Linked DNA regions of Homo sapiens: region 2 is linked to region 1. Evidence: promoter capture Hi-C in human tissues and cell types (Jung and others, 2019). All regions are on one chromosome and are shown on one strand. The core of a region is centred on a gene start or on the middle of the fragment in contact, and the rest is flanking DNA. Distances in the headings are between cores, read along the strand shown. Region 1 holds the start of PFN3 (profilin 3). Region 2 holds the start of LOC124901145 (a long non-coding RNA gene).

Evidence for each region. Contacts are between HindIII fragments. The study calls those that stand out against the background at their distance.
Region 2: a fragment that was not itself captured here is called in contact with the fragment with the promoter of PFN3 in region 1 in 1 of the 25 tissues and cell types used here (dorsolateral prefrontal cortex).

Annotation. Positions count from the first base shown.
Region 1 is chr5:177,399,317-177,402,135 of GRCh38, reverse strand. PFN3 (profilin 3) reads left to right here and starts at 1,475. Exons shown (of 1, transcript NM_001029886.3): 1 at 1,475-2,027. The coding sequence starts at 1,560. The coding sequence ends at 1,973. RefSeq lists an enhancer at 1-166. The HindIII fragment of the contact is 7,517 bases long and covers 1-2,819 here.
Region 2 is chr5:176,981,689-176,984,829 of GRCh38, reverse strand. It overlaps UIMC1 (ubiquitin interaction motif containing 1), which reads left to right. Exons shown (of 15, transcript NM_001199298.2): 2 at 2,207-2,361. The coding sequence starts at 2,215. It overlaps LOC124901145 (a long non-coding RNA gene), which reads left to right and starts at 2,368. Exons shown (of 2, transcript XR_007059073.1): 1 at 2,368-3,141. RefSeq lists a silencer at 1-75. The HindIII fragment of the contact is 7,476 bases long and covers 1-3,141 here.

The DNA.
Region 1 (2,819 bases), core at 226-2,725:
AAAGCTCTTTTCTTCATGGGTCCCGCCGGGAAATGCCAAGACAGAAAAGCGATTCACAGCTTCTCCACAGCTCTCAGAGAACAAGGTCTATGAGATCTTAACGTGCAAAATCTAGATGCCAGCCCAGCTAATGTTTACTGAGCCTAGGATACTGTATACCAAGCCCTGTGCAAGGAGAAGCTGCATGTTATTCCTTATGAGAAACTAACATTTTGTTTACAGAGCAGTAGTTCTCAGACCATACATTAAGATCACTTGGGGAGCGTTTTGAGCCAATCTATGCCCAAGTTCCACCTCAGACCAATTAAATCAGTATGTCTAGGGATGGGGCATGGGTAGTGGTATATTTGTAAAACTCCCCAGATAATTCCATGTACAGCCAAGGTTGAGAATCGTGGTTAGAAATACTTAGCATTGGCCGGGCGCGGTGGCTCACGCCTGTAATCCTAGCACTTTAAGAGGCCAAGGCAGGTGGATTGCTCAGGAGTTCGAAACCAGCCTGGGCAACACGATGAAACCCCGTCTCTACTAAAATACAAGAAATTAGCCGGGCACGGCGGCGTGCGCCTGTAGTCCCAGCTACTCAGGAGGCTGAGGCAGGAGAATCACTTGAACCGGCAGGAAGGAAGGAAGGAAGGAACAGAGGGAGGGAAAGAGAGAGACAGAAAGAAAAGAAAAAAGAAAATAGAAAAAAAGAGCATTGACTGTGGCGTGGACCCTAAGGGCTGGGTGACATATCGTTGTCCCCACCCCAACACGCACTAGTGTAGTGGGTCTGAGAGTCCCTTGGCTAGCAGTACCATCACCAGGGAACTTGTTACACATAACAAATTCTCGGGCTACACTTTATACTGCTGAACAGAAAGTCTGGGGTGGGGCCCAGCAATCTGTTTAACAGCCTTGCGGGGGATTCTGATGTTCTCTCATGCTTAAGAACCACAATCTGGGGGTTGAATGGTTGGTTCCCTTACAAGTGAAGGTCTGGCTGTCCAGACACAACATCCTTTTTTCACAAAACCAGCTTTTTAAAATTAAAAATAGATTGGCCAGATGCGGTGGTTCACGCCTGTAATCTCGTCACTTTGAGAGGCTGAGGCGGGAGGATTGTTTGAGCTCAAGACTTCCTGACCCGCCTGGGCAACATAGTGAGACCTCATCTCAAAAAAATTTTTTTTAATTAAAATTTGTTTTTGCTTTTTTAGAGACGGGGCCTCGCTCTGTGGCTCAGGCTGGCGTGCAGCGACACGATCCTATAATAGTTTACTATAATCTCGCTACTGAGTTCAAGCGATCCGCCCGCCTCGGCCTCCCAAAGCGCTGGGATTACAGGAGTGAGCCGCTGCGCTCTGCCAAACCCATCCTACAGGATAACCTTAGAACTGCGACAGCACTAAACGCCCACGCCCCACGTGCCCCAGCCTGGGTGGTCGCTCCGGGACGGCGCCTTGTGTGACGTCACAGCCCCGCCCAGCCTGCCTCACAGCGCCGCAGGCCTTCCCCGCGTGGCGCCTCTATATTTCCCCGAGAGGTGCGAGGCGGCTGGGCGCACTCGGAGCGCGATGGGCGACTGGAAGGTCTACATCAGTGCAGTGCTGCGGGACCAGCGCATCGACGACGTGGCCATCGTGGGCCATGCGGACAACAGCTGCGTGTGGGCTTCGCGGCCCGGGGGCCTGCTGGCGGCCATCTCGCCGCAGGAGGTGGGCGTGCTCACGGGGCCGGACAGGCACACCTTCCTGCAGGCGGGCCTGAGCGTGGGGGGCCGCCGCTGCTGCGTCATCCGCGACCACCTGCTGGCCGAGGGTGACGGCGTGCTGGACGCACGCACCAAGGGGCTGGACGCGCGCGCCGTGTGCGTGGGCCGTGCGCCGCGCGCGCTCCTGGTGCTAATGGGCCGACGCGGCGTACATGGGGGCATCCTCAACAAGACGGTGCACGAACTCATACGCGGGCTGCGCATGCAGGGCGCCTAGCCGGCCAGCCAGGCCGCCCACTGGTAGCGCGGGCCAAATAAACTGTGACCTGGGCGCGGCTGGCTCCTCCTCCACTTGCGCGGTGGGGGGAGTTGTAAATAAGGAAACTGGTCTTTGCAAGACGGTTACCTGGTGGAGCCGGGATTTTGAGTCTAGAGGCTGCCAGGCCCCTGTGCCCTACACCCTGCTCTCCCATGGACGCCTTGCAGAGGCTCCTGGCCTGACTGCTGCTCCTTGGCGCGTTCCCAGGGTCCTAGGGACTCCGCAGCTGAGGAAGAGTCCAAGGGTGGGGGCTTCTCAAAGTCTGTTTCAGCCTTAGCGTCCTTTCTCAGAGATATTCCCACACATTAGGCAGGACAAGTAAAGGGAGCCCCCTCCCCATCCCGCGAACACCTCTCCCCATCAGGGTGTCAGGCTGGAGGCCAATTTGCTCCTCCCCCCTCCACTCATACCTCAAGCACTAGCAAGTTGTGAGTGGGTGACAGGATGGGCTTGGTGGCTTGTAAAGCAGTTCTGGGGCTCACAGGCCTCTGCATCTCTGCCCACATTCCTCCAAGGGGAGCCTACTGAGAGGGCTCATGTCCAAGACCATCGCAATTGGGTTTGAGACCTTACATCCTGCCTTCCCCAGGCCTTCGAAAAGGCCCCGCAGGAGTCCCTGGACTAGAGGGAGGAACTCTGGCATCCCTACCCGGGAGTCTCACTCTGCAGGCCTCAGTTTCAGGGTGACCTATGGAGGAGGGGGAATTGAAAAGCTTGGGTAAGTTTGAGGCCTGGTTTATTGCCCAAAGATAGTGGACAAAAGTGGGAGGGAGGGTGTCTGGTCCCTGCCCTCCATGTGCTGGG
Region 2 (3,141 bases), core at 93-2,592, 420 kb after region 1:
TTGACACAGCACATGTTTCAGAGAGCACGGGGTTGGGGGTAAGGTTATAGATTAACAGCATCCCAAGGCAGAAGAATTTTTCTTAGTACAGAACAAAATGGAGTCTCCTATGTCTACTTCTTTCTACACAGGCACAGTAACAACCTGATCTCTCTTTCTTTTCCCCACATTTCCCCCTTTTCTTTTTGACAAAACCGCCATCGTCATCATGGCCTGTTCTCGTTGGTCGCTGTCTCTTCGGAGCTGTTGGGTACACCTCCCAGATGGGGCGGCCGGGCAGAGGCACTCCTCACTCCTAGATGGGGCGGCCAGGCAGAGGCACTCCTCACTCCTAGATGGGGCGGCCAGGCAGAGGCGCTCCTCACATCCCAGACGATAGGCAGCCGGGCAGAGGCGCTCCCCACTTCCCAGACGGGGTGGCGGCCGGGCAGAGGCACTCCTCACTTCCCAGACGGGGAGGCCGGGCAGAGGCACTCCTCACTTCCCAGACGGGGCGGCCGGGCAGAGGCACTCCCCATTTCCCAGACGGGGTGGCGGCCGGCAGAGGCGCTCCTCACATCCCAGATGGGCCGGCCGGGCAGAGGCACTCCTCACTTTCCAGATGGGGCGGCCGGGCAGAGGCGCTCCTCACTTCCCATTCGGGGCGGCCGGGCAGAGGCGCTCCTCACTTCCCAGACAGGGCGGCCGGGCAGAGGCACTCCTCACTTTCCAGACAGGGCGGCCGGGCAGAGGCACTCCTCACTTCCCAGACGGGGCGGCCGGGCAGAGGCACTCCTCACTTCCCAGACGGGGCGGCCGGGCAGAGGCGCTCCTCACTTCCCAGACGGGGCGGCCGGGCAGAGGCGCTCCTCACTTCCTCCCAGACGGGGCGGCTGGGCAGAGGCACTCCTCACTTCCCAGATGGGGTGGCCGGGCAGAGGTGCTCCTCACATCCCAGATGGGGTGGCGGCCGGGCAGAGGCACTCCTCACTTCCTCCCAGACGGGGCAGCCGGGCAGAGGCGCTCCTCACATCCAAGACGATGGGCGGCCAGGCAGGGGCTCCTCACTTCCTAGACGGGGTGGCGGCCGGGTAGAGGCGCTCCTGACTTCCCAGACGGGGTGGCCGGGCAGAGGGGCTCCTCACATCCTAGACGATGGGCAGCCAGGCAGAGACACTGCTCACTTCTTAGATGGGGTGGCGGGCGGGCAGAGGCTGTAATCTTAGCACTTTGGGAGGCCAAGGCAGGCGGCTGGGAGGTGGAGGTTGTAGCGAGCCGAGATCATGCCACTGCACTCCAGCCTGGGCAACATTGAGCATTGAGTGAGCGAGACTCCGTCTGCAATCCCAGCACCTCGGGAGGCCGAGGCGGGCAGATCACCCGAGGCCAGGAGCTGGAGACCAGCCCGGTCAACATGGCGAAACCCGGTCTCCACCAAAAATACAAAAACCAGTCAGGAGTGGCGGTGCGTGCCTGGAATCCCAGGCACTTGGCAGGCCGAGGCAGGAGAATCACGGGAGCCTGAGGCAGGGAGGTTGCAGCGAGCCAAGATCGTGGCAGTATCAGCAACAGAGGGAGACTGAAGAAAGGAGGGAGAGGAGGAGGGGGAGGGGGAGAGGGAGAGGGCTATATTTTTAATGAGTAGTAGACAAGTTAAGAAATGCAGTTTTGCTTCTGTTAGATAGGGTTATCTTTTTCTTTTACAAGATTAAATTGAGGCTGGGCATGGTGGCTCACTCCTGTAACCCCAACACTTTGGGAGGCCAAGGCGGGCAGATGACCTGAGGTCAGGAGTTCAATACCAGCCTGGCCAACATGGTGAAACCCAGTCTCTACAAAAATACAAAAATTAGGCTGGATGTGGTGGCTCATGTCTGTAATCTCAGCACTATGGGAGGCTGACACGGGTGGATCACCTGAAGTGAGGAGTTTGAGACCAGCCTGGCCAACATGGTGAAACTCTGTCTGTACTAAAAATGCAAAAATTAGCCAGTGTGGTGGCGTGTGCCTGTGGTCCCAGCTACTCGGGAGGCTGAGGCAGGAGGATTGCTTGAACCTGGGAGGCAGCGGTTGCAGTGAGCCAAGATCGTGCCATTGCACTCCAGCCTGGGCAACAAAGCGAGACCATCTCAAAAAAAGACTAAGTTGAATAGCTTCTAGAAAACTTATACTTTAAGTAAATTATGATCTTTTTATTCTAGACAAAATTATTGTCCTTTTATTCTAGACAAAAGGATGCCACGGAGAAAGAAAAAAGTTAAAGAAGTCTCCGAATCTCGGAACCTGGAGAAGAAGGATGTGGAAACTACCAGTTCTGTCAGTGTGAAGAGGAAGCGTAGACTTGAGGATGCATTCATTGTGATATCCGATAGTGATGGAGAGGTTAGTGAAGTAGAGCTGAAAAGTAGAGCTGTAGCTCTCAAACTATGCTTCTTTACCCATGGGGAGTTTGTTTCGTGACTGACTTCACCTTAATGCCAGCTCACCAAAACCATGAAATTTTTACTCAGCTTTGTTTTAATTTGTAAATGGAATGAAGAATTACTTAAGGTAGTAATCCTGTTGCTTGGTTGAGGATGGATCATAGTTCTTCAGTTTTATAATATAGTAATCCAAAGTGGCATTTTGGAACTATTTGAATCATCTAAATCAATTGTAAATCTTAGTTTTCATGTGTCTAGAAAGTGAGAGGAAAAACACGTGAATGTTCTTAAGTCTCTTGATATGTTCTACATATAATAGCACCTAGCCATCTGTAGCTGTTTAAAAATAACTAAAATTAAAAATCAGCTTCTCTGTTGCACTAGTCACATTTCAAGTGATTAAAGACACATAAGGCTAGTGTCAGTTGTATTAGACAGCAGAGCTATACAACATTTTTATCATTTTAGAAAGCTTTATTCTCCGGAATAAAGATTGTAACCTTTTTCCTTTATCCTGTATTTCTATTTGTTTATTGGAGTTTTCTGCCTGCCTGCAGGTCTCATCTCAAAGGCAGTGAATTAAGTCATTGTTTTTTCCTTCAGATTTTCTTCTCTTTCTCCTATATATTTTTTTTTTCTAGAGCCAGGGTCTCCCTCTGTCACCTAGGCTGGAGTGCAGTGGTGTTAGCTCAGCTCACTCCACCTTCCTTCTCCTGGTCCCACCTCAGCCTCCCATGTA